7 separate regions of the Homo sapiens genome follow, and regions 1, 2, 3, 5, 6 and 7 are each linked to region 4. The links are contacts of gene promoters, found by promoter capture Hi-C in blood cells and fetal thymus (Javierre and others, 2016). All regions are on one chromosome and are shown on one strand. Each heading gives the region's core, a stretch centred on a gene start or on the middle of the fragment in contact. The rest is flanking DNA. Distances are from core to core; before and after follow the strand shown. Region 1 overlaps MUC13 (mucin 13, cell surface associated). Region 2 overlaps HEG1 (heart development protein with EGF like domains 1). Region 3 overlaps HEG1 (heart development protein with EGF like domains 1). Region 4 holds the start of ZNF148 (zinc finger protein 148). Region 5 overlaps LOC124906278 (a long non-coding RNA gene). Region 6 overlaps HEG1 (heart development protein with EGF like domains 1). Region 7 overlaps HEG1 (heart development protein with EGF like domains 1).

Region 1 (3,785 bases), core at 1,189-3,688, 440 kb before region 4:
CCTGTGAAGTAGACATAAGTGCCCACATTTGACAGAAGAGCCCACCAATACTCAGAAGGGTTAAGGAATTTGCCCAGAGGCAAAGCCAGGTCTGTGAGATGACAATGTCCTAACTATCACTTGATTAAAGTTATGGGGAAGGCCATCCATTTAATGAAAAAGCCAAGACCCCCGAGGAACAAACACAAGAAAAGCAAATAGAGAAAATTGGGGATCAGAATGAAAGCGGTGGAAATAGAAGTGACCTCCACGGTGCCCTCTATCATCGGAGTAGCAGTGAGAGTGGCCAGGGGCTGGCTCTCGCTGTGGAAAACTCTGGACAGAAGAAAAGGACTTGGCAGACTGTGGGTGCAAACAACCCCAACCCCACCAGACCCTGAATTTCATGCTTTGGGAATATTCATTCTCGGCCGATGCCAAAGAACCAACATGTTTCTGTAGATGTGCATAAAACAAATTGGGACTTCTTGAGAGGTTTTTGCAGGTCTTTGGAATTATGACAAGGAGTTTTGGACTTGGTGGCTTGTTTATTTTGGTTTTAAATTTCTGTTCACTAGGGAGAATACATTTCAGAATGCTCAATTAGTTTTAATAAATGAGACACATTCCAAGCTGACAGCAATTCATTGCTGTGAATAGCTACGATTTTTTTTTAAACTAAAATACACTTGTGTGTGTCTATGTGTATATATGTGTTTTATCTGAGGGTTGTATAGATTTCAGGGAAGACAGCTTAGAGCTGATATCCCAGGCTTAAATTATCTAGTAAAAATACCCAAGAGGAACTGTAAAATAACCTATTTTGTTCAATCTATAGATAACAGAAATATATGAAGACATCTGTGCAGTAGAAATAACTTTAGTCTTTTTATTTCCTTAGGTCCTAAAGCTTCTAAATAACACAAGGATAGCACAACGTCCACAGAGGTACAAATCATAGGTTTCAATGGGAAAATATATGCCCTGACCTGGTTTCTTTCTGGGGAACACTCCATAATCACCACCCCTGTCCAGGGCACACCTATAACTGCTTTATTCAAAGCTAGCTGAAAGTCACAATCAAACGCCTTTCTCCCAGATCTGAATTCTTCATTATGATGAGATGTTGGTTCCCAAAGGCACTCATCAGATTCTGTGGAATAATGCAGTCCTAGTCTCTCAGAGAAAGCAAAAACAACCTGGGAAGTTTTGCCTGTTAAAGGCTCTTCAAATGTCACTGGCACATTTTTCATTTGTTTCAGTAAATGCTTGTGCGGGGGTTCTTGCAGTCAAGGTGCTATACAAGGCATAGGGGTGAGGAGGAACGTAAAGGTGTACAAGACACACTTCCTGCCCTTGGTTGCTCAGAATCTGAGATGGAACTCATGTTTGAAGTAGTGATTCCTTACACACACCTCCAAAATCCTTAACGTTACATTAAAAAGCAACTTTTTAAAAATTTTCAGGCCAGGAGCGGTGGCTCATGTCTGTAATCCCGGCACTTCGGGAGGCTGAGGTGGGTGGATCATGAGATCAAGAGATTGTGACCATCCTGGCCAACATGATGAAACCCTGTCTCTACTAAAAATACAAAAATTATCTGGGCATGGTGGCACACGCCTGTAGTCCCAACTACTTGGGAGGCTGAGACAGGAGAATTGGTTGAACCCAGGAGGCAGAGGTTGCAGCGAGCCAAGATCGTGACAACTGCACTCCAGCCTGGCAACAGAGCGAGACTCTGTCTCAAAAAAAAAAAAAAGCAACTTTTTAAAAATTTTCAGGCCAGGCGCGGTGGCTCATGCCTGTAATCCCAGCAGTTTGGGAGGCCGAGGCGGGCAGATCACCTGAGGTCAGGAGTTTGGGATCAGCCTGGCCAACATGATGAAACGCCATCTCTACCAAAAATGCAAAAATTAGCTGGGCGTGGTGGCAGGCACCTATAATCCCAGCCACTCGGGAAACTGAGGCAGGAGAATCACTTGAACCTGGGAGGCAGAGGTTGCAGTGAGCTGAGATAGTGCCATTGCACTCCAGCCTGGGCGACAAGAGCAAAACTCCATCTCAAAAAGTAATATAAGGCCAGGCGCGGTGGCTCACGCCTGTAATCCCAGAACTTTGGGAGGCCAAGGCGGGCGGATCATGAGGTCAGGAGTTCGAGAACAGCCTGGCCAATGTAGTGAAACCCCGTCTCTACTAAAAATACAAAAAAATTAGCCAGGTGTGGTAGTGAGCACCTGTAATCCCAGCTACTTGGGAAGCTGAGGCAGGAGAATTGCTTGAACCTGGCAGGCGGAGGTTGCAGTGAGCCAAGATGGCGCCATTGCACTCCAGCCTGGGCAACAAGAACAAAACTCTGTCTCAAAATAAATAAATAAATAATAAAATAAATATTTTTTTCAAAAGCAAACCTTAGTAGCCACAAAACTGTCAGTATTAATATATCTGGAGGTAGATGGGTGGGAAGTCAGATTGGATGCTCAATTTTTATTTCATATACATCTGTATTGTTTGGATTTGTTACAGTGGGTCTGCATTACTTGTATAACTTTTTTAAACAAAGAAGAGGAAATCAAAACCAAAGTTTGAAAATCAGATCCAGGCTGGGCGTGGTGGCTCACGCCTGTAATCCCAGCACTTTGGGAGGCCAAGGCAGGTGGATCTCCTGAGGTCAAGAGTCTGAGACCAGCCTAGCCAACATGGTGAAACCCCATCTCTACTAAAAATACAAAAATTAGCCAGGTGTGGTGGCAGGTGCCTGTAATCCCAGCTAGTCTGGAGGCTGAGGCAGGAGAATCGCTTGAACCTGGGAGGCGGAGGTTGCAGTAAGCAGAGATCGTGCCATTGCACTCCAGCCTGGGCGACAAGAGTGAAACTCGGTCTCAAAAAAAAAAAAAGAAAGAAAGAAAAGAAAATCAGATCCAAGTGCAGACATGACAAAAAGGGAAATCATTTATTAAGCCCCTATGTGCCAGGCAGTATCCCGGCACATCAGGCTCTTTGTCTCATTTAATCCTCTCAGTCACTCTTCAGTATAGGGATTTCCCCTCTATTGCTACACAGGAAGACACTGAGGGTCAGAGACACCCCACAGCTAATAAGTGGTGGCATGCCATCTGAATCCCTGCTTGCCCTACTTTTGCCCTTCCCCCTGGGTTCTCTGGGTCAAGAAACATCTCCATTCCCCTAAGGTCCCTTGAGCCTCAATGATTCCTGATTCCCTTAACTCTCTATTCATCTCCTTGTCCCCTCCCAGCCAACTTTCCCCTTTCTACCGCCCTTCTATTCTATTTTTAAAAAGTCAAGCCTTTTTTAACAGTGGCTCCTGAAAGTCATACAAGCCTCACCAATTCTTCCTTTGTCCTGAAGGCTTGGACCTAGCATCTGCCCCCAAGGTTGGCAGGAGAGATCTGGTGAGCCCTCCCCTCCTGTGCAGCTAGCCTTCTCCAACCTTCCAGCATTAAGAGCTTGAAACCAGCTCTCAAAAAACTCTAATCCTGATGCCATTCATTCCAGTTCTCTGAAAGGGCTTAATTTCTCTTCATACATCTGCCTTATCAAATACTTTCTTCCTTTCTGCAAGCAGCTTCTAGATTTCAACTCATTGAACCTGAAGGAAATAAAAATATTTCACCCCCAAATATAGCTCCATGATATAATGAGTATTTTAAATTAAAAACTCTTAGAGGTCAACAAGCGCTGTAAGGACTGATCCACCAAAGAAGAACTATTGCTCCTGTTCCCCTCCCTGTTATGTCATTATCCACTACAGGAAAGAAGACCGAGAAGGAAACCACCCCTGAGCTGAC
Region 2 (3,503 bases), core at 836-3,335, 340 kb before region 4:
TTTTAAAGGATTGACCAAAATACATTGTTGATACAGTTTTTCTTATGTATTATGCTCACACTATACTGTCAAATGCAAACATAAATTATAAAATAGTATGTATCATATGATTCCATGTTATTAAAAATATATCTATGACAAATTGTCTCCTAAGAAAAAGAACAAAAATGGTTGGTATCTTGATAAAAGGATCCCAGGTCTACGGACCTGGAGAAGCCACTTAGGAATGGGCTTTCTGGGGTCCCCAGATGGCCTCCTAAGGTAGGTGAAGTCTGTAGACCTTTAATAGAAAGTTGGCTCATGCAACTTGCTACTAACAAAGTGTGTAGGTAGGAGTTCCAGTGACATTTCTGAAACATAATGTAAGCATGTGAGTGGCTTTTGATGGCATAGCTGAAAGACTGATGAGTTTCCTTGTGCCTCAGCTGCTCTGCCCCTGGATGCCTAACTACACTCAGTAACAGTCATGGCCATAACTGGTAGCCCATGACCACCTCTGCAGAGCAGCTAGACACCAAATACACCCTTGGTTAGTGCAGCCACTGCTGGGCCCTGCTGGCCCCAAAGAGCTGCCTTCTGTGGTTACACCTCCACTTCTCCTTAGTCAGTGGGTACCAAAGTCGCCTGCACTGGTGAGAAACTACTGCTTTCCGTGTCTCTAGAAATTCAATTCTTAATAAGAGAGGCAGTGGGGGAATACACAGACTGTGGTTCAAGTCAGACCATGTAGGTTAGACTTCTGGCTCCACCTCTTTCATACCCTATGATCTTAAGTGAGATCCTTAATTGCTTCATGCCCCAGCTTGCCTTCTGTAAAATGAGGATATTAACAGCATCTCCCTCACTGGGTTGTTGTGAAAACCAATGGAATGTAGACATGTAAGAGCTTAGAAAGAGTGCCTGGTACACAGTGAATGCTACATATGTCATAGCTATTAAATGGATTTAGGGTTGTCAACTTTTAAGAAATAGATTTGGGTGGATGACCTTGGCAGGCACTGCTAATCAATCAAAGCTCAGTGTCCTAACCCTTCTTCAGGTAGTGGACCACAGCCCATACCAGAGTGGCCCCAGGCTCCCAAGCCCTCTTGGAAGCTAGGAATCCACTCTGACAAAAGCACTGAGGCTAGACAAATGGCTGCAGGAACAGTTTGGGCCTCGCTGAATTCCACTCCACGACACCTCTCCTAGGAGGTATAGGGAGAGCTTAGGACGCACAGCGTGAGACCTGGGACCACCTCCAGCACAGCAAGCTCTTGAAGTCACTGGCCTGGTACCCCAAAAGAACAATATCCCACTGTCCCCTATTGAACTCCGGGTACCCCTCTATCTCTCTTATTGCCTACTAACTCTTCCTTGGAAAGGGATTAATAAACCACATAGCTGGAGCAGGCAACACCCCCAGCCCACCCCTACTGCCACTGGAGGTCTTGTTTGACTGTGAACATCCAAGCGCTTTACACCATTCCAGGTGGCATCGCAGTGGGGACAATGGGTCAAATGCTAAAATATGTACTGAAGTCCAATGACTGATCCTTTCTGAAGCCCTGAGTTCATCAGGGCCACTGTGGATGAATTCTGTTTAGGGCATGGCTCCCTATTCAGCACCTGTGTACACCCTGAGTAGGAGAGTAATTTGGAATAAACCTGCCACATGGAGGGCGAGGTGTCAAAGAACCTGCTCTTATTCTTGGTGGAGAAGAGAAACGGCCCTGGAGAAATGGAAAGGAGACGGGATTCCTCAAGCTTCAGAGCCTGGGCCCAATGAAGTCAGGAGTAAGGAGAAGAGGCTGTGCCCCCTCAGACATTCATGGGGTGGGAGGGGGCACCCTGGAGGCTTAGTAGGCTGGTGCTGTGCACCTCACCCAGGCCAGCTTCGCAGATGGTCAGAGACAATCATTCAAACCCCATTCACACCAACCCTCCTCATATTGGAGATTAGACATCCCATTTCTCAGGTATCTTTTGAGCTGAAAATACCATCCTTCCCTCTGTACTTAGCCCCCTGTGCTGGGCCATAACTTTCCCTTGTACCATGAATGGAGATTAAATTAACAAGAGCGTTTTATTGCTTGCTTTGCCTGTTTTTTTTTTCCTCCTAATTGACAACTTCCACTTCTGTAGCGTCTTAATGTTCCAAAACATCTGTTTGTGAACCAGCATCATCAGGGATGCTAGCACAGCCCAAGAATAGGATTTCCTAATTAGCAGCTGCTACAGAGTCAACTCCTTGCCACCCCCCACTCCCTGCCAGTGATTTGGGGCTTTTCAGTTTGCATTGTTTCTGAGCAGTGGAGTGAGTAGGAGCATACAGGGAGTGTGCTGTCTTATCCAAAGAGGTAATTTCCTCCTGGAGGGTCCACCCCACCCCCACACCTCAGCCTCAACCCCCGCAGCGGGCCAAATGACAAGCGCTGCCAGCTACAAGCTTCTGGGGCACACAATTGAAGAACAAGCCCTTTATTTTCTTTTCCCTCCATTTGGATTCAGATTTCACTAACATCTATTTAGGGCTTACCACGTGCTAAACATTTTCACATGCATTATCTCATTAATACCCTGTCAAGCGGGTATTATTATCCTCATATAGCACATGGGGAAACTGAGGGTCAGAAAGATTAAGTGATTGTTCCAGGTCACGCACTCACTAGCAGTACAGACACAGTCTGAACCTAGGGCTCATTCCATCACACTCCAGCTTATTCCATGAGGCTTTAAGGCACTGGCCAAAAGAACAGAGCCAAAAAAAAAAAAAACAACAAAAAAAAACAAGTCCCCCACAAAAAGCCAAACTGCAGCTTGAAACACAACTGTGCTGACCTTGTTTCTCTCTAAGAGGAATGAAATGGTGCCTATCACACGGGCTTTGGAATCAGACAGACTTGATTTGACAACAGCTGCACATTATTAGCTGGAAGACTGAGCAAGAGGACTTCTAGATCAGCTTCTAACTCAGAGAGGATTTTTACGCATAACGAAAAGAATAAGAGAGAAAGAGTGGAGCCATAACGGAGAATGAGCTTGAGGAACAAGAAAAGTCTGTTTTTGATATGTGACGTTTGGGGTGATGTTACAACTTCCAAGGGAAAATGTCTGGCAGACAGTTAAAGATTTGGGACCGTTGATTAGGAGAAAGGACAGGATATGACATACGAAGGGAAAAATCAAGGATCAAGGACTGATTCCCGGGAAAACTTGAATGTAGAGACAGGAGAAGAGCCAGTGACAGAGACGCAGATGACAAGGGAAGGATAGGACAAAATTAAAGGTAGGAGCCAGTGAAGAGGAAGGCAGTGAGACCAGCCCTACAGAAAGTCCCTAGGTCTTTCTAGGGTGTCGCCTGGTAGAAGAAAGATGAAGGTCATATTGCTCAAAAGGGAGCGGTTCCAGAACAGTAAGACACTGATGCTCAGCTGTGGAATTGCCCGTTCCTGCCTCCCCGGTAGAGCATTCCTGGGATCCTCAATTTGGGGACTGGTGGACCACAATCAAATGAAAATATA
Region 3 (3,631 bases), core at 614-3,113, 360 kb before region 4:
CAGGATGGGTCAGCGAGAGCTGTTTTCCAGCTGTAGTCTGTACGGCTATAGGGCCAGTGACCAGAGATGCTGTGCTTGACAGGGTGCCAGGAGTGGTCATAAGAGGCTGAGAGGTCTTCAGAATGGTAGTTGTGAAAGTTGGAGACATTTGTGCTAAGTTGGTGCTTGTGGCTGGAAGGGTTTGCTCTGTGGAGGACTCTGTTAAGGATGGAGGCAAAGGAGAGTTTGTTGTTACAGCTTTGGTGGACTCTGTGGGCAGAGACACCAGGCTTGGTGACTTTGATTCTGTAATGACTTTCTCTTGGTGTGGGGTGCTCTGGCTCTTAAGGTCTGCAGTTTGACTACTATGGAGCATTGTCATGAATGATGTCATTGTTGATGTCTGAAATGAAGTCACAGGAGTCTCCCTTGCCCTGGGCAGGACAGGGGTAGAAGATGACTGTGGCAAGGTTGTTTGTGAGACAGAAAGTGGGGCAGATGTAGATGTCGTTAAGGATACTGGTAAAGGTGATGGTGAGGAAGACCATGGTGTGGATGCATCAGAGGTAGACTTTAGTAGATGCACAGAGGCCCTGGTTGATGGTAAAATTGATGAAAATAAATGGTGGGATTGTGACACAGAGGGCAGAGGCAAAGGAGGCCCTGAAGAAGAAGAAGAGGAGGAGGAGGAAGAGGAGGAGGAGGAGTCACTAACAAACTCAGCATCAGTGTCCAGAACAACCGAAGTGTTCGGCATATTAATGGTGGGTGTGTAGGACGGAAGGTTGGATGTATGCAGAACTGGCGACTCAGTAGAAGGCTGAGCATATTCCCCGTCATAGGATGAGATGTTACTTCTCTCAGTCTGAGCATGAAAAAAGGAGGAATACTCTGAATGTGAAGAGTTTGAGATTTTAATATAAGAAGTTGAGCTCTCCACAATGTCTGAGGATGAACTGTTATCTGTAATGGACAGTAACGCCCGTTCTCCTTTGGTGAAAGTAGATGACAGGTAGGTGTGGTCTGTGTGGTCGCTGGAAGTCCTTTGTTCAATAGCTGTGCCACGCACTTGACCGTAGCTAATCCCAGCGACTGTAAACGGAAAAGCCAAAGTTAGGTCAAATAAAAGAACAACAAAACTCTGAAATATGCACTATCAAACAGACTTTCAGTGTCATGAAACTCAATGAATTCAAGTGGGTGAAACACTTGCTTTGGAGAGGTGGTTTTCAAGGGTGAGCACTCTGAATAAAGACATTGTGGGCAGGCAGGAGTGGTCAGTGTCTCCTCTGAGCAGACTGACCTCCTGAGAGAAGCAGTGGTAGCGGCAGTGGAAATGGTAACAAAAGAGAAGTGGGGACTAAGGGTCTAAAAATGGAGAGGAGTTGCAAATTTCCTCCACATGCCTTTTTCGATAAAAGCAAACTGGTATCTGAAAAGCTCTTAAGACCCCAAATAGAATAACTGTTATGCCTAAATGAAAAAAGGAAAATCTTCCCAACTTTCCATTCTATAGAATGAGATATTTCTTTCCCAGGAGATTGACCTTAGCCACAAGTGGTTGGTCTCTTATTTTAAGTCTCCCAGCAAACACTATCCCAAATTCCTTAGGTGAGTGTGTGTGGAGGGCTGGGGGTGGGAACTGGGGAGGGGTATTCACCTTCCTGAGGTGGGAGAATCTAGAAAGTTCTCTCCATAAAGAGCTTGTAAGGCACTTTCTGGCTTGACAGCTAACTGAATCATCCCAGGACGGTGAGTAAATTAATAGATGAGCTGAAGGGATGTGTTAAAAGAGACTGTGGAAGACACCCCACCTCCGAGTGCACTGGAGGCGGCCAGTGACCGTGAGACCAGGCCCATGTCGTCCGTCACGTTTACGTGCAGAGAGGCACCCTCTGTTTCTTGGTGCATGGCCGCTGCAGGGCTGCCTGCTTCCCCAGAAGTCGTGCTCATGCTGGTGTTGGTGAGGGTGACAGACCGCAGTGTGCGTTCCCCGTTTCCAGTGACAGTAGCCAAGGTGTGGGTGCCGAGAGAGGGCACCCCAGAAGTCCTGTCCTCTGCATTGGCGGAACTGTCACCTAGTGCTTGGCCTGGCTCTCGGCTGTCTTCCAAGGCTAAAAGTAGAGTGAAAGAGGATGGCTGAAAAATGCAGGGCTGGAGCGACAGGATCGTGCCCCAAGCCTCACTTCCTGGGCTGTGGGAGCCAAGACGCTCCCCTGTACTTTTAGGGTCTTTATCTGAGATGTCTGTTGCCCTTGCAAACATGGCTCAGTGATTGAAACCTCAAGAGGAACTGTGGATCAGCACAACTGTTCAGGCACCCTGGATTTATAGGAGGGTATATTACTTTAGCAAATAGGATCGATACTAGATTTCTGCTCAGTGATACATAATAAATAGAGTTTATGTCAGAGAAATTGGTAGTGGTGGTGAGGAGGTAAACAGTTGGTGAAAGACTAATAATCCTACTGGGGCTTCAGACATTTGCACAAGGCCCAGAAGGGAGGCCATAGTCCTCCTTGGAAGGCTCTTCCTCCCGGAAGGACCAGGAATACATGAATGGCCACAAGGCCAGTCATTACACGGCATTAGTACAATGGCAAAGAAACAGCCTGAGGTGGGGGGTGAAAGGTGGGCTTGTTTTTTTGTCTTCTTTTATTTTTTAAAATGCATGTGTTTTATTCTATTGATGGGGATGGAAGAGGGCAGACGACACATGAATAAATGTCTGTTTCATTCTCTTTTGGGTATGTGTTTATGCTACAAACCTAAAGGGTCTTAGAACTAATTTTAGATTGTTAGATTATCAGATAAACCCTTCTCTTCAGAAATGATGAAAATGAGGTCCAATTCTCCTTGGCCTAAATCCTTCCTAATCTGGCTGTACAAAAAGAAAAAAAAACCCAAAAAACAAAAAACAGGCTCTTTTCTGGTTCTTATTCACATTCCCAGCCCAGACTGGCTGTCAGTACGCCATGGCCATGCTTTGATGGAAAACAGTGTAAAGCTGAGTGTTGGCTAAATTCATTTTGGGATAGGTTTGAATTGACAGAGACAGGAATGAGCACGGGCCACGAGCATCACTGAGAAAGCCAGAAGCCAGACAGAGATGCGACTCAAGCCAGTCTGAAGGGCTCAAGACCTGTGGAGAGCCAACCAGGAGAGGCGCAAGAGCAGGATCTAAGTACGATTTCTCTGGGCAAAGAGAAAAAGGTCTTGGATGGGGAGATCCTAAACTCTCTGTTAAATGAAATTTAGGCCAATGACCACATCAGGGTTACAGGCTTAACAAAGTAGAGAGAGAGTCAGACATGAAATGGAGACTCTGAATGCAGAAAAGGGAGCGGGCCAAGAACTCTAAAAGGCCGGAGTGCAGAACCCCGCCAGCTTTGGGTGACTCTGAGGGAAAAAGATAAAGTATTGTGTTAACCCACAGTGAGATGGTTTCAGGAATGTGGCTACTTTCTATCTAGCTCTTTATAAATGAACTCCAAGATCTGATCACACTGAAATCATATGTTCCTCATGAACCAACTGAGCATTAATTGCAGAGAAGCGGGTACTGAAGAGATGTAAAAGAGAAAGGCTATGAAACTCAAGATCCTGGTTTGAGAAGGTAGAAGTCCTGACCCCCACAGTAGTGAGGGTGAAA
Region 4 (3,727 bases), core at 679-3,178:
AGTTTTTTCTTAATAAAAGGTGAATAATATCCGGGTAGTTTTTAAGAGTATGGTTCTAGCCCAGAGTTCCCTCTTGGAAATCTGGTCTGGTGTGAGCTCAGCAAATCCAGAGAGAGCTTGGTTCATTTCCTGACATAGAGATGCTAATCCTCCCTCCAACCTGGCTCTAGAGTCGTCCAGTCTCCTAGGTTCCCCTAGACCTTCTGATAACTAGTCCTGACCTCCTTGCAACCTAAAACCAAAACAGATATTCTAGCTCCTCCATTCTGCAGGCCCACACTTTGCTGGCTGATACGTTTTCTTCAATGCCATCATGCCTGAATGAGAGTATTCTCTCACTGGAGAACTCCCTCACAGTTCACTTCAGGAACTGTGAATGGCAGAAGATCTCCCACCAGCCACAGATTTATGGAACCAATCCAGCCAACTAATTTGAGCTACAAATGAAGTATCTAAAGAAGAGCCAGCAAGCATGTCTTCCCCCCGACCATTAATTATAATCTTGTGTACTGCAATCCAGGCTGAATAATACGGCACCAATTCTCCTGGACCAGATAAACTGGGCAGTGAAGAAAACCACCAAGTCAATTAATTTCCATTCCAGCGTTTGCCAGGATAGTATTTACCCAACCTCGGGTAAGTGTTAATACTTCAAATTTTCTAAAATCGAAGCTCCATAGCCTAAGGAATCCCCACAGGCCAGACCCTTTCTCAAGGTCTGCTTCAGAGGTTCTCATACTCATTGGTGCACGTCTAAAATGTCACAGACCAAACTACAGACTAAAATCTAATTCTCAGTGACCCCAACCACGGCCCAGACCCACACTTACCAGATGTCATCTACTGAACAGCCCACACAGGTTCGGAACTAGGCCATCCCGGCCCATCTGGAATAACTCTTCAGTACTTAGGCCAATATTTATTAATTATACTACATCTGTCTATTCTATTATGCATTCCCTGCATCTTCTCTACTATTTAGCACTCCCTCTTGCTTCAAACGCGATCCTTTCTATTCACGGGAACTCCTATCTCCCTTCTTTCCTTCCCTGAGAAACGCTTCAGTTCTTTCCATAATGAAATACCTAACGTATCTGCACAATGAACACCCCCCAGAATCCTCAAGACTCCTCCACAGCCACCTCCCCGCATTCCTCCACCTCTCCGGCATCTTTCCTCCGGCCCCTCGCCCTGTTCGCACTCCCACTACGTTTCCTGCAAGCATTCCCTTTTCTCCAACCCCTGCCCTTCCCTTCTCCCAAAGAGCACACTCCGGCAGCAACAGTGACTGAGGCCTGCGGTGCATAAAGCACTGCACCAGGCACGGTGGACAGAGCCCTGGTGTCTCCCTAGCCTTTTCACACCCACACCCAGCACCCTCCGGCCTCCCCGTGCAAACATCCCACCTCCTCCCCTACCTCTGACACCCGCCTCCAGCCTCGGAGGCCGCCTTCTCGCCTCCGCCACCCCCGTCATTATCCCTCCTCAACCCCCCAACCCACCCTCCGCGCCCTGCTTCCTCACGTCCCCCAGCCAGCCCCAGCGTTTCCCTCGGCCTCGGCTGGCCCCCTGGCCACCCCCAGCCTCGCCACGGCTCGCTCCCCCCGGGGTCAGGCCGTTACCGCCGCGCGCTCCCCCCGCGCGCCGCCCCCTCCCCCTCCCCCGCCCTCCCCCGGGCCCGGGCCTGCCAGGCCGAGCGCTTTACCGCGGGCGGGCGCCGAGTCGCGCGGTCACCGACTGCAGGCGGCGGCAGCTCCAACCTTTCTAGGGGCCTTGAGAGGAGGGGAAGGGGGGAGGGGGGAGAACTTTTGCTGTGGCAGCTTCGGCAACAGCTCCCACCCCTGCGCCTTTCTCCTCTTCCTCCCCCTCCTCCTCCTCCTCCTCTTCCTCCTTCTCTTCCTCCTCCCAGAGCAGTAGAGACGCAGACATGCCGCAGCTAGAGCGCCGCCGCGGTCGCCGCCACTGCCGGCCCGGTGCATTGTGGGAAGCCCCGCACACGGGAAGCGCTCCGCGGCGCCCGCCCTCGTCTGGCGCAGAGACCTGGCTGGAAAGACACAGCGTGGCTTCGATTCCGGCGCCTGCGTGTCACCAGCCCAGGGTGGCCGTGGAAGCTGGACCCGAGCCGCAGGCCCCCCAGGCTGGGCCTGGGAGGAAAGCGGTTTGAAAAAGATCGGAACTGAGGAACTCTCTTAGAGCGGGGGACTCCCTGCTCCTACAGCCTTAACCAATGCCCAGCGCTTGGAAAGTGGAGGACTCGGGGATTCGGGAGCGTTTCAGGCCTGGGGAAATGGAAGGGTCGGGGACCTAGGTGAAAGGTTATTTGCCAGAAATGTCTTGGCTTTTTCATTTATTCTGTCTTACCTAGCCCTTCGCCGCCACCTCCAGTCGTTGGCCTCTTACCACCTTCAAATGCCACCTTTTCCGGAAGATGTAGCCCTGCGCCCTTGAAACTGGCAAACCCTATTAGTGTCTGCAAGCTGAGATGCAGGGTGTGGGCATAGACACAGATCAAGAGATCCGGCCCTGGACCCTCTTGGGCAGAACCTTGCCCTTCTCATTTCACCTGAAGCCCAAACTTTGTATGGCAAAGACTTGGTAATGATCTCTATAGAGCTAGGATTACACAGTTGTCTCATCCTTTGGGGGCCCTTTAGCCAAACTGTGACCTCCTTAATGGTGCCTTCGTCAGCTAACATTAGGCGCCCTGAGGTGCTTCTGCATACTGCCATCGTTTACAATTACTCATCTTTGTGTACACACCCTAGCACAAGGTCAGCCATATAACATAAAAGATGCTCAGTGAATGTTGAGTAATTGTGAGCATCTGGAACTTGCCGTGGGATAAAACGCGTTCATTGGGATTTCTTCATAATAATATGAAGATTCCATTTAGCGCCTCTCTGCAATACTTAAACGTAACCTTTGAGGGGAGAGGGAAAAGAAAAGGCATGAAAATATCTATAGAGCCATTTCTGGTGTTCTCCTTCCCTTTTCCACACCCGCCTTCCCACCCCTTGCCAACTAAATGTTCATTTGAATAGTGCTTTTTGGCAAAATTCCAAACTCCTGCATTATGCACTTGTGATGACACTGAATTAGATTAGTGTCTGCAAGGTTAATGTTCCCTCAGGCATTAACCTTAGTAAATCGTGATGCCTGTTTAGAAATAGCTAAGGCCCAGAGGTTCAGCTTAATTTAGACACAGGTAACTAAGAGCAAGAGTAAACCACAGCTCCACAATCAACTCTCTCTGTGTGCTTTCTCCATTAAAAAATATAAATTTTAATAAGATGACCGCACATATTCTGAATGTTAATTGCAACAAAACAATGACACAAGTTAGAGCCAAGGGACAGTTATCTGGAGGACAGCCTTCTGGCAACTTCTAGCACCCGCAGTGGCATCAAATTCAGACGTCATAATGAAAAACACCTCTGGCAGCAAGAAAGCCGACTCTCAGTATTAGGCAGTGGGAAAACTAATAACTGAAAAGGGCTCAAGGCCTGGAGGTTACATCCAATGGGCTAGGATTGATTGGTTTGCTATTAGGAATAGATCTAGTTCTCTGCTCAGCAGCCTAACAAGCGATAGAGAAACAGCTGTCTAAAATGGGCAGAACGAAGAGCACTACAGGGATAGTAACAGCAAAAGCGATGGTGAGGAGCAAGCTTAGGTCCTTTATAAGTTAAACTGGAAAAACTTCTCAGCTTCAGGTTGGCTCTCCATG
Region 5 (3,486 bases), core at 514-3,013, 300 kb before region 4:
AGACTGGTGAGGTGTACCTGACTCTGATGAGGTGGTTTCAGACACCCATCTACAAAGTTATGAGAACAGTTGCTCCAGCCATGGATGGATGGGTGGATGGATTGATGGATGGATGGCTGGGTAGGTCAATGGGTAGGTGTGTGGGCAGGTAGATGGATCATTGGATGGATCAATCTATAGACTGGTCTGAAGGGAGACCTTCATGGGCCCAGAAGGTCTGATACAACCTTCACTCATTCAGACATTATCACCTACAACTGTGGACTTCTTGGTAAAATTCAGGCCAGGAACCTGCCCCTCTCCCTATCTTAGAAAATGTTGCTGGTCTCACTGTCACATATACCGGCTGTACTGACATTTTGGGGGCATCCTTTAGATAAGAATGATCCAGTGACATGCATGTTTTGTCTGACAACCTGTACTTACCACTGACCTCTGTCAATATGCACGTTATTTATAATCCCTCTTAATGTGCCACCTCAGATCCTCTCTGCTCCACCTGTCTCTGGGGCAAGTCCACTTGTTCCATCTCAGCCGCCACTGGAACAACCAGTTCTGGTGGGCTGCAGCCAGTGTCTTCTTGCTGCAGCCTGCTAAGCACTCACGTCGTGCAGGTCACAATGGCAGGGTTGCTGGTGCCCACCCAGAGCTAACTTTTGGTTATGGGAAGCAGAAGCCAGTAGATGAATTCTGATCCCTTCCTACCCCTAGGGTTCCTGTGGTTTCTCAGCAGAGTCCTTTGAGGTGAAGCATCATTTGCATATGATACTAAGTTGTTGCTAGCCCTCCTCCCCTGCTTTACCCCTCTTTCCTCTCATCCTGCTTCTGTGGCTGCACTCTCCAATCAAGGGGTAGCTCATAAGCTTCCGCTTTCTGAGAAACCCAGGCTAAGACCTGGTGTTACTATTACTATTTTCACAATCTAGCTGGAGTGAAATACAAGATTTTTGGACCTCATTAGAAAGTCAGCCTGTGTAGCACCTGCCTCCTACACTAGACCGAGCCATTCATTTTGGCGACCCCAATGTGGAAAATAATGTTTGAATTCTTTATCATGCTCCATTCTTCTCTTATTCTTTTCCATAAAATCAATCACATTAGGAAGGTGCTCTTCCTGGATACTTGGATATTCTACTGCATTTGGTTTTTAACCTTGGTACCATCTTTTTCAAACTGCTGGTTTTCAAACTCAGTACTATCCTTTTCAGAGTGGTTACTTTCTTAAGTGTATGATTCAATGAGTTTAATAAGTGGATATAATCATAAAACCACCACCGAAATCAAGTTACAGAATAATTTCCCCAGCCAGGCGCAATGGCTCATGCTTGTAATCCCAGCACTTTGGAAGGCTGAGGCGGGAGGATCACTTGAGGTCATGAGTTCAAGACCAGCCTGGCCAACATGGCGAAACCCTGTCTCCACTAAAAACACAAAAATTAGCTGGGTTTGGTGGCACATACCTGTAATGCCAGCTACTTGGGAGGCTGAGGCAGGAGAATCACTTGAACCCGTGAGGCGGAGGTCGCAGTGAGCCGAGATCGCACCACTACACTCCAGCCTGGGTGACAGAGCGAGACTCCATTTCAAAAAAAAAAAAAAAGAAGAAGAAGAAGAATTTCCTCACCACAAAAAGTTGTGTCATGCCCTTGGCAATCGACCCCCTCCCAGACCCAGACCCAGCCTTCTGTCATTGTGCTACTGCCTTTCCTGGAGGTCAAACAAATAAAACTTCAAGTATTTCATCTTTTGTGCCTGGCTTCCTTTACTTACCCAGTGCTTTAAAATTCAGCTACATGGTTTCCTGTGTCATTACTTTAATACTCACTAGGATTCCATTGCGTGGATGCAACAGGATGTTGATCCATTCTTGTCAATAGAGAGTTGGGTCATTTCTACTTTCTGGTTATTTTACATAAAGCTACAATAACGTTGCTTGTTACCTCTGAACTTGACTGGAGCTGGACTCCCAGGCAGTCCTGGATAGAGATGAGCCTGGGGGCAGGAAAGGCCGGGACCTGAAGACAACTGGCAGCCACAGGACTAGAGCTCCACCTTCTTTTTGAAAAGATTTCTCTGGCTGCCACACAAAAATGATACCTTGGCCAGGGTGGCATCAACATGAAAGGGGATATATTTGGCACTACAGCAATTCCAGTTGCTCTTCCAGCCCTCAGCCTCCAGGTCCACTCAGTGACAATGAGCAAAAATAGACATATTAAGATTAGTCATGGCCGGGTGGGGTGGCTCATACCTGTAATCCCAGCACTTTGTGAGGCTGAGGCAGGAGGACTACTTGAGCCTAGAAATTCGAGACCAGCATGACAACATGGCAAAATCCCATCTTTACAAAAATTACAAAGATTAGCTGGGTACGCTGGTGCACTCCCAGCTACTTGGGAGGCTGAGGTGGGAGGATGGCTGGAGCCCAGGAGGTTGAGGCTGCAGTGAGCTGTGATTGCACCACTGTACTCCAGCCTGGGTGACAGAGTAAGATCATGTTTCAAAGGAAAAAAAAAAAAAGATTAGTCATAACAGCACAAAAGGAAAGGAGCAGACAAGATAAGGATCTGTCCACTCAAAAGTCAGGGCCGATTGCTGTGATTACCTTAAGCCCTCAGGACACAGATTTGAGGACTGACCCAGAGGTCTTCAAATGGAGAGAATCAAGCTTAGTCTTGATGGACACCATCAGAGATGTCACCTTTAAGCATTTATCAGAGTTACCAGTTTACATTTTTGTAATTTTTTTAGAAATGCTTGTTTCCTAGTAGAATATCATTCCACTTGTATCCTACAGTGAGTGACATCTGATTACTGGTTTCTAGACTTTTGAGACCAGTCTCCTAGGGAGGTGCTGGAGACAACCTCTTCTCAACACTGCTGAGGAGTGTGGGACAACCTCTGTAAACAAGAGACCTTATTCTTGCTGCTCCAGGAACTACTGGAGGCTGTCACGACAACTATGGTCCCTCAGGCTGAGCTCTAGGCCCAACATGTAGTCATGATATCTAGGCCACAAGACTTGGCCCACAGAGCTCTGTACTCTTTCCAGGAAGCTCTTGGGCAACAATGCAAATGAGACCATACCTGAATTTTGACCTATTCCTTACCATTCTGCTGTCCTTTCTGAAGCAAAGTCAGGACTCCCCACAAAAGCCTTCCCTTCTCTATTAAACTATCACCAGTAAATGACTGTGACAAAGCACCAACTGAAGCACACGCCTTGGGAGCACAGGTGGCTCCTGCACTTGGTGCTTAAGGCGAGCAGTGCCTGATACTGTTCTCAATCCATCCCATGCAATGAGCAGGAACCCCAGGATTGAAGTGGCTTAAACTCTTTGTCACACAATCCAGGGCAGTGTAAGGCAGGCAACTCCTGGGCTAGAAGAGTTGGAAACTCGATGAGTCTCATACAGGCATCATGTGTGGGGCCAACAATATCCATGAGAAAGGGCAACCATCTCTGGAAGCCCTGAGACCCCATCT
Region 6 (3,789 bases), core at 568-3,067, 410 kb before region 4:
AGATCAGTCTGGCCAATGTGGTGAAACCCCATCTCTACTAAAAAAATACAAAAAAATTAGCCAGGCATGGTGGCGTATGCCTGTATTCCCAGCTACTCAGGAGGCTGAGGCAGGAGAATTGCTTGAACCTAAAAGGCAGAGGTTGCAGTGAGCCAAGATCATGCCATTGCACTCCAGCCTGGGCAACAGAGTGAGACTCCATCTCAAAAAAAAAAAAAATGTATCTTCCCAGAAGTGACACATTTCACTCCCATCTACATTTCTTTGGTCAAAGCAACTCATGTGGCTACATTTCAAAAGGGTAGAAAAGTACATCCTACCATGCGCCTGGAAGGAAGAAAGCAAGACGTATTTGGTAAATAGCAGAAATCTCCTCCACCTCCAGGCAACCACTCATCTGTGTCCTGTTCCTATAGTTTTATCTTTTCTCAAATGTAATGTAAATGGAAAAGCCTTTTGTGTCCTTTTTGTGTCTAGCTTTTTTCACTTAGCATATTGCTTTGAGACTTTTTGTGTCCAGCTTTTTTCACTTAGCACAATGCTTTGAGACTTTTTGTGTCCAGCTTTTTTCACTTAGCACAACACTTTGAGACTCATCTGTCATTGCCTGTTGTAGTACTTTGTTCCTTTAAATTGCTGAGTGAGATTCTATTGCACAGTTCCACAATTCCCCAGGGAAAGGACTTTCTAGTGTGTTTTAAAAGTGTTTCCTCCACAGATGTTTGCCTGGGCTTTGCTACAAGAGATCTTTGCTAAGTGCTCCTGTTCAGTGATATGTCACAGCTATATATTTTTCCACTGTCAGCCAGTCATCAGCCTGCAGCTACTAGAGGAGCTAGAGCTCCAGAATCTTTAATTGCCATGATTTATTTATTTTGTTGGCTGATTGGTCTGCCCACTTACTCATTCTTTGTTTTAGTGAATGCCTGCTAGGTGCCAGGCACTGAGCAGATAATATTTAACAAGGATAGGATTGGTTCCTATCCCCACAGGATTTATGATTTTGAGCCCATTAATCCCTTGATGATATAGGAAACAGGTTGGAAAAGGAGTAAAGGGGAAATATTAGAACATTTTGACCACAAGTCCAAGGTCTTCAGGGGGAGTTACTAGCATATCAGTATGGAGATGACATTCAATTCTGCAACTGTCTTTCCTCTATTTTGTGGTTGCTATTGTTTTGTTGGCGGTAGTGGTGTCTTACCCTGTCACCCAAGCTGGAGTACAGTGGCTTGATCCTAACTCACTGCAGCCTTGAACTCCTGGACTCAAGCGATCCTCCAGCCTCAGACTCCTGAGTAGCTGAGACTACAGGCATGAGCCGCCATGCCTGGCTAATTTAAAAAAAAAAAATTTGTAGAGACAGAGTCTTGCTTTGTTGTCCAGGCTGGTCTTGAACTCCTGGCTTCAAGCGATTCTCCCACCTCGGCTTCCCACAGTGGCATCTTTCCTTCTTTTGGTAACAGGAGGGACCTATTGAAGAGAACCAATGTGCTATTTCTTCACAGTTTTCAATTCCTAGGGCTGGATTGTGGTAGCCACTTGGCACAGAGAGCAGGAACTTCAGGTCAGAAAGATAAAAAGATCCCAGGGGTAAAGATATTTATGTTGATTTATATTAAAATCATAGGAAACACTCATAGTGTTTTCCTGTGAGTTCTCCCCTTTAACCCTCATGAGAACTTTGTGAGGCAATGATTATTATCCCCACTTTACTGATCAGGACACTGAGGCTCAGAGAACTGGGCAGCCTCTTAGGCCTGACATCATGATCTGGGAAAACAGCCACAAAATGGCTGGAGAGTGTCTTGTACCAGCTGATGGTGCTGCAAGTATTTATGGGGTCAACACACATCGACATAAATACCTTTACTCCTGGCATCTTTTTATCTTTCTGACCTGAAGTTCCTGCTCACTGTGCCAAGTGGCTACCACAATCCAGCCCTAGGAACTGAAAGCTGCCACAGCCGTTCAATATCCAGTACGGGAGAGGACTCTGACCTGTATGATCTATGCATTGTGCCCCTTACCTTTTACTTCCCAAGCAACTGGAAAATGGCTCATTGCACATTGCTGAGGTTTAGCCCAACAGTTTAAAATCACTTTTTAGCTCTTTACTTGCTGGTAATCAAAGCCTGAGGTGGAGGTTCTGTGTTGCCAGGTCAGTGGCACAAGTAGGATAAAGCACTCAGGCTAGCTTATCATGCACAGAAGTTCCTTCCATTTTAGGTTCAAAACAATCACCAGGGTGCAGCATTATTCACAATAGCCAAAACATAGAAACAACCTAAGTACCCATCAACAGATGAATGGATAAAGAAACTGTGTTGCGTATTACCACATGTGGAATATTATTCAGTATTAAAAACAGAGATCCTGCCATTTGCAACAATGTGGGCAACAAGGAACCTGGAGGACATTATGCTAAGTGAAATCAGCCAGGCACAGAAAGACAAACACTGAATGATCTCACTTACATGTGGAATCTAAAAAAAGTTGAACTCATAGAAACAGAGAGTAGAACGGTGGGAGGGCACAGAAATGGGGAGAAATAGATCAAAGGGTACATACTTGCACTTATGTAAGATGAATCAGCCTGGAGATGTAATGTACGGTCAGAGTACCATAGTTAGTAATACTGTGTTGTATACTGAACATTTGCTAAGAGAATAGATTTTAGGCGCTCTTACCACACACACAGACACACGTATCAATGAGATGATAGATACAATAATTTGCTTGACTATAATAGCTATTTCACTGTGTATTTCAAAACATCATGTTGTATACCTTAAATATACACAATTTAAAAATAAAATACAAACAAAAATTAGTATGAGGGGAGAGAAGGTCTGGAAATGATGCGATGTTTATGAGTCTGCCTAAGCTGAGTGGGAACAAGAAAGGGGTCAGTCCTGGGTTCCTGCTCAGACCTCAGTTGGGATTGTGAGCTGTGGGGAAGGGAGAGCTGAGTGGGTGGGGCTGGCTCAGGAGAGGAGAGTGCTACTGGCCACCTCCATTCATTTGGAAGGCCGTAGCCCTGATCCAACCTGCCAAAAGGTCACCTTCATGCCCCAAACTGCCATTATTGGCCTCCCCCAGTGCCAAGGTTTTTGCCATAAAGCATATGAGAGGCTCATCATCCCTGACCTGCAAGGCATCCAAGGAAGCAATTCATTCACGAATGTATACCTAAACAGGCAGCCACATCCCTCGGCCACCATGAGTGTAAGATCCATGGCCCACCATCTTAAAGTTCTGCAGATTCTCCCCACCAGAGCACACATAGGCTTACTTTCCCCTCTCCTCCAACACATGAAGAGTTGGCATGGAAGGGATAGTGGGAGACATTGAGGAGGGAATTGTAAGTATCTGAATTGGTCACTTATGGTCTCCAATTCACATAAACAAAAGCAGGTGCTGTATCTAAGTTTGGCTTCCTGCCATTTAGGTCTGTTTGTCCATCCATCCATCATCAAAAGTGTACCTCCCCAGTGCTGGGCACTGAGAATACAGAAATGACTCAGCTTCCACATTTGCCATGTGGAAGCTCACTGTACAACTGGTAACTTGTTGCATTCTGGTCTGGTTTTCTTGTTATTAAGAGGAAAACACACAATGAAAATGATATTAATTTTATTGCATCATTTTACTGACTAGAACGCCAGACTTAGAGTGGATATAAGTATAAAAATAACCAAATTCTTACAAATAATACTTTGCTGCTACAGTACTGAATAATTAGTGGAGGTTGCAATTATAATACAACTTTAAATAACATTCTCATAA
Region 7 (3,821 bases), core at 261-2,760, 380 kb before region 4:
GTGATTTTTATTCAGATTCCAGTAACATCCATTGACATCTGTCACCAGCAAGGTGTTGACTGAGTAGGAAAACTGGCCATCCATGATGGCCTTTATATCGTTAGTTTTTCTGGTGATTGCAAGTTGCAGCAGCCTTTTATAAGTCAGGGTGCGTGGTGCTCTTGGACCTGAATTAATTTTATTTTAAAGCAGTATTCTTGGACTACATTCTTTGAGCAGTTTTTCCCTGAAACTAAATGAATTTAAGCCTCACCTTAAAGGTTAGTAGAATTAGATTTCTGCTCTCAAGCACTTCATGAGACCTTTAAAACCAGAACTCATTAATTCAACAACAACCTGGACCAAATACAAGAGCAGATGCTGACAGCTTACAAAGGGCCTCTATATCCACTGCCTTCCTTAACTCTTAGAATAAATATCCAATAGAGGATCACCATACCCATTTCTCAGGAGAGGAAACCGAGGCTCAGAGAAACAAAGTGACTTGCCCAAGGTGATACATGATCAGTGAGGCAGAGTCGGGCTCTGACTCTGGCCTCAGCTGCCTCTGAAAGATATAAGCCTGACCCCACGCTTGTACTTCCACTTTAAAAGATTAGCAGACAACAGATAAAGCTTTGGGAATTAAAACAATAATTTTTCTAACTTCCTTTAAATGGAAAAAAAAAGAAAAGGCACTGCTACCACAGGCATTCCATTCTGTCTTCCTTTGAATTTAATTGGCCAGACCAGCATGCACCAGTCAAAGATAATGCTATTATTCCAAGGAGATAATGTATTCAATCCTGCCACGAGCAAAATAACAAGAACCAGTTACCCTCAGTTTAGAATGGTCACGCCTAAGCAAAGACAGAGAGAGAGCAAGAAAGAGAAACAGAGCACCAGGCAGAGTCCCAGGACTGGGCACAGAACCCCAGGCGAAGCTGTGGCTACCTCGGCAGGAGTGGTCCATCTTGTTGAACTGAAAGTATCCCGACTTGCACTGGCACAGGGCAACGCCGTCCAGGTCAGTGCAGATGGAGGTGTCTTTGTCACATTCGGGACTCTTCCGCTTGCACAAGCTGCCCGCTGGAATGGAAAAACAAGACAGTGAAACAAAACAAAACCTTCTCCACTTCAAACCTTAAAATCTCCTCCACTTCAAAGCTCATGTGTCTGCATGAACTCTCTATTTCAAGAGGCTGAGAACAGTTTTCCGAAAAGTCTCCACAGAGCAACACTCCTCTCAGGAGTCCATCTGTACTGCCTTCTGCCACTCCTTCTCTGATCAGCCGCAGGCTGTGCACCAGTGTTCCCCGTTGAAAACACCCTCACAGCGTGCCACGGACCCACTGAGAAACGAAATTGGAATAAACAGGCCCTGTTCACTCCTCTGGTGCTCACTGCAAATACAGCCCTTAATGGCCCCGTGTCTTCCAAAGGACTGCGGAGGAAGGATCAGCACAACCAGAAAATACGGCTGAGTTCTTAGGAAGCCGAGACTTGGACTAAGAACAGGAGTGCAGGCCAGACCTGTTTCAAGTGGAAGTACATCTCAGCTCTGTGTGTCTGCATGGCCTAAAAAGGGACCTAGAACCACTCCCTGTGGCAAGGTGGCTTGCTGTCCTGACAGCGTGCTGCCTACAAGAGACTGGTGATGAGGAGAGATCTGAAAGACAATCTGCTTGCCCCGGGCTGTAGTGTAATTCTGCTTATCAGGCAGTTTCCCCCACTCCACTGATGGGTTCTTGAGGCTTCTTCATCTCTGGGTCTTCAGTGCCTGGCACAGGGACTGGTTGGTACACATGGCCGCCTGTCACTGACCAGGCAGAGAGAAACAGAGGCAGGCAGAGAAGGAGCCCATCTTTCAGGCTTGCTACCTTGTTTACTTTAGGGCCTTATTCATCTCATGGATGACAAAGAATCATTTCATTATTATCAGAAAGCATTTCCTGTGGGGCATATGGCCCTCTGTGAAGTTGTGTACAGCAGACACAATGAGGGTGCATAGGCCTCCTGTGTATATGGGGTACACAGAGAACAGAACAAAAATAGGAAACCAACTGGATAGTGGATAGTACCTTATTTACACCCATGTGCAGGGCAAGGCAAGCTAGATATTTGCTGTTGTTATTGGGGGGCAAGCTCAAGTTCAGAATGGGAAGAAAGATGCAAGGGGAAGGGCCATGTATCTATTGTGCAGGGAGGAATGGCTGCCAATTTTCCAGGCATGGTCTCCCATTTCCCACCCAAAGGAGGAAGCCAACCTATTCAGAAGCCAGGTACCCCTTTTAATGCTGCAAAACTGCCCCTGCCCAGGCAGGTTTTGGTGACATGAGCTGCCACCCCACATGGGGTTCCTGAAATCTGCCCCCTTTTGTGAGTCCTGAGAACTCAGGACCGGTAGACAGCCTGGTCACACGAGGTAAGCTTAGGACACAACTCTAGTTCTCAAAGCTGAATTTCCTGCCTTTATCAGTGGAAGCTAGCGTGCTCAATCAGAACCACATTTGTGTGTGTGACAGAATTTCCTTTGTTTATTGTAAAAAGTTTGTATTTAAGGGAGAAAAATTAAAAATGGAAAATCTCACCAGGCAAACACTGCAAAGCTGGCACCAGGGAGGTAATGAACTTCCACAATCCCTCATCTCAACTCTTTGAAGGCTTTGCCAGTCCTCAAGCCTTAATATAAAGAAATTCCTCCAGGGCAGAAACCTGTCCAGGCTGACACTTGCCTTGTCCAGCAGCCAGCCAGAGTTGCCTGGCCTGATTAGATATTTTCTGGAAGCCAATGTCACGTTTTCCTTCCACCCTGCCCATTAATCCAGCCTGCTGGCAAATCACTCTGCTGGAGCAACTGTGCCCTGCACAGAAGCAGATCCATGCAAAAGCATGGGACACAGGCCCTGCCTCTGCAGTGGAGGAGTTGCTACCCTACAAATTCTCAAAGAATATTCTACCATAAATTCATCCAATAGGACCACGTAGAATCCCATTTTCATATAAAGCCTGGCAATGTGATTTTGCTACATTCACAATTCCCATGGTCTTTCCTGGGCATAACATCCGCCAAAACAGACAATGAGACTCTAAGTAAATCTAAAGCTGAGACATTCCATGGGGGATTTCCAAAGACTAAACCTCTGGAGATGACAAGAGCTGCAGTTCTTTGAAAGGCAAGGAAGTGGATATTTTATGAAGTGAAGACAGAAAACCCTCCTTTCCAATGGCAGTGTCCAGAGTAGCCCAGCACTGCCCTTATGCTGGAAACACCCAGATGTCAGAAGCTGTCAAGGCCACCTCTCTAGTACTCAGAAAGGTTAGCATGAGACCAGGCTGGTCTTGGCAAAACCTGGAGAAGACCTGGGAGGAAAAACAGGGAAACAAGCCTGTTTTTTTCAGCTAATATGCATAGCTGTCTTTGTTCTCACGGGCTCTGAAAGGAGAAGTAAATAGGAACTTCAGCAAGGCAGCAAGGGTGAGAGGTACTTTCCCATAAACCATATACAAGCAGTCGGAAGAATGGGAGTCAGAGGGTGGGTAGGGCTGCCATGAGCAGGCTCTTTCAAATCCAAATGGCTGGCACTTGATTTGCAAGGCACTTGATTTGAATGCATTTATGGGAAACAAAAAGTAACCTGGTGCAATGTTGATCACATAGAATGTATTCCATAAATATTTAGTGAACTGAAAGGTGACTTTCCTACCTCACTGGGGAGGACAACTTGGTACCCTTGAATCCTTGTCAAGAGAAACAAAAAAGTAAAACCATAGAGTCTCAAAGTTTCGAGCATGATATAATGGGGCATGACCTTTCTACCTCACTCCCCCATCAATAGTAA

What was found. Contacts are between HindIII fragments. The CHiCAGO score rates a contact against its expected background, and 5 or more counts as called.
Region 1: a fragment that was not itself captured here is called in contact with the fragment with the promoter of ZNF148 in region 4 in 5 of 17 cell types (endothelial precursors, naive B cells, total CD8 T cells and 2 more); the score reaches 7.9 in endothelial precursors.
Region 2: a contact is called between a fragment that was not itself captured here and the fragment with the promoter of ZNF148 in region 4, in 1 of 17 cell types (total CD8 T cells). The highest score is 5.6, in total CD8 T cells.
Region 3: a contact is called between a fragment that was not itself captured here and the fragment with the promoter of ZNF148 in region 4, in 9 of 17 cell types (naive B cells, total B cells, naive CD4 T cells and 6 more). The highest score is 7.5, in naive B cells.
Region 5: a fragment that was not itself captured here is called in contact with the fragment with the promoter of ZNF148 in region 4 in 1 of 17 cell types (total B cells); the score reaches 5.2 in total B cells.
Region 6: a contact is called between a fragment that was not itself captured here and the fragment with the promoter of ZNF148 in region 4, in 1 of 17 cell types (monocytes). The highest score is 5.8, in monocytes.
Region 7: a contact is called between a fragment that was not itself captured here and the fragment with the promoter of ZNF148 in region 4, in 14 of 17 cell types (fetal thymus, naive CD4 T cells, total CD4 T cells and 11 more). The highest score is 11.5, in fetal thymus.

What each region holds. Positions count from the first base shown.
Region 1 is chr3:124,929,707-124,933,491 of GRCh38, forward strand. The region is part of intron 1 of MUC13 (mucin 13, cell surface associated); the gene reads right to left. Among named protein-coding and RNA genes, the nearest start is that of MUC13, 3.2 kb to the right of the region's middle. The HindIII fragment of the contact is 3,102 bases long and covers 888-3,785 here.
Region 2 is chr3:125,037,094-125,040,596 of GRCh38, forward strand. The region is part of intron 1 of HEG1 (heart development protein with EGF like domains 1); the gene reads right to left. Among named protein-coding and RNA genes, the nearest start is that of HEG1, 17 kb to the right of the region's middle. The HindIII fragment of the contact is 682 bases long and covers 1,745-2,426 here.
Region 3 is chr3:125,012,920-125,016,550 of GRCh38, forward strand. HEG1 (heart development protein with EGF like domains 1) reads right to left here. Exons shown (of 17, transcript NM_020733.2): 6 at 1-1,071. Among named protein-coding and RNA genes, the nearest start is that of HEG1, 41 kb to the right of the region's middle. RefSeq lists an enhancer at 1,726-2,020. The HindIII fragment of the contact is 3,992 bases long and covers 1-3,631 here.
Region 4 is chr3:125,373,397-125,377,123 of GRCh38, forward strand. It overlaps ZNF148 (zinc finger protein 148), which reads right to left and starts at 1,929. Exons shown (of 9, transcript NM_021964.3): 1 at 1,706-1,929. It overlaps LOC105374080 (a long non-coding RNA gene), which reads left to right and starts at 2,030. Exons shown (of 3, transcript XR_924427.3): 1 at 2,030-3,656. RefSeq lists a silencer at 1,664-1,713 and enhancers at 1,824-2,093, 2,204-2,253. The HindIII fragment of the contact is 7,036 bases long and covers 1-3,666 here.
Region 5 is chr3:125,077,294-125,080,779 of GRCh38, forward strand. LOC124906278 (a long non-coding RNA gene) reads right to left here. Exons shown (of 3, transcript XR_007096045.1): 1 at 1-3,486. Among named protein-coding and RNA genes, the nearest start is that of DAGARR, 18 kb to the left of the region's middle. The HindIII fragment of the contact is 1,805 bases long and covers 862-2,666 here.
Region 6 is chr3:124,962,091-124,965,879 of GRCh38, forward strand. It overlaps HEG1 (heart development protein with EGF like domains 1), which reads right to left. Exons shown (of 17, transcript NM_020733.2): 17 at 3,620-3,789. Among named protein-coding and RNA genes, the nearest start is that of MUC13, 29 kb to the left of the region's middle. The HindIII fragment of the contact is 5,337 bases long and covers 1-3,789 here.
Region 7 is chr3:124,996,756-125,000,576 of GRCh38, forward strand. It overlaps HEG1 (heart development protein with EGF like domains 1), which reads right to left. Exons shown (of 17, transcript NM_020733.2): 12 at 934-1,068. Among named protein-coding and RNA genes, the nearest start is that of HEG1, 57 kb to the right of the region's middle. The HindIII fragment of the contact is 1,794 bases long and covers 614-2,407 here.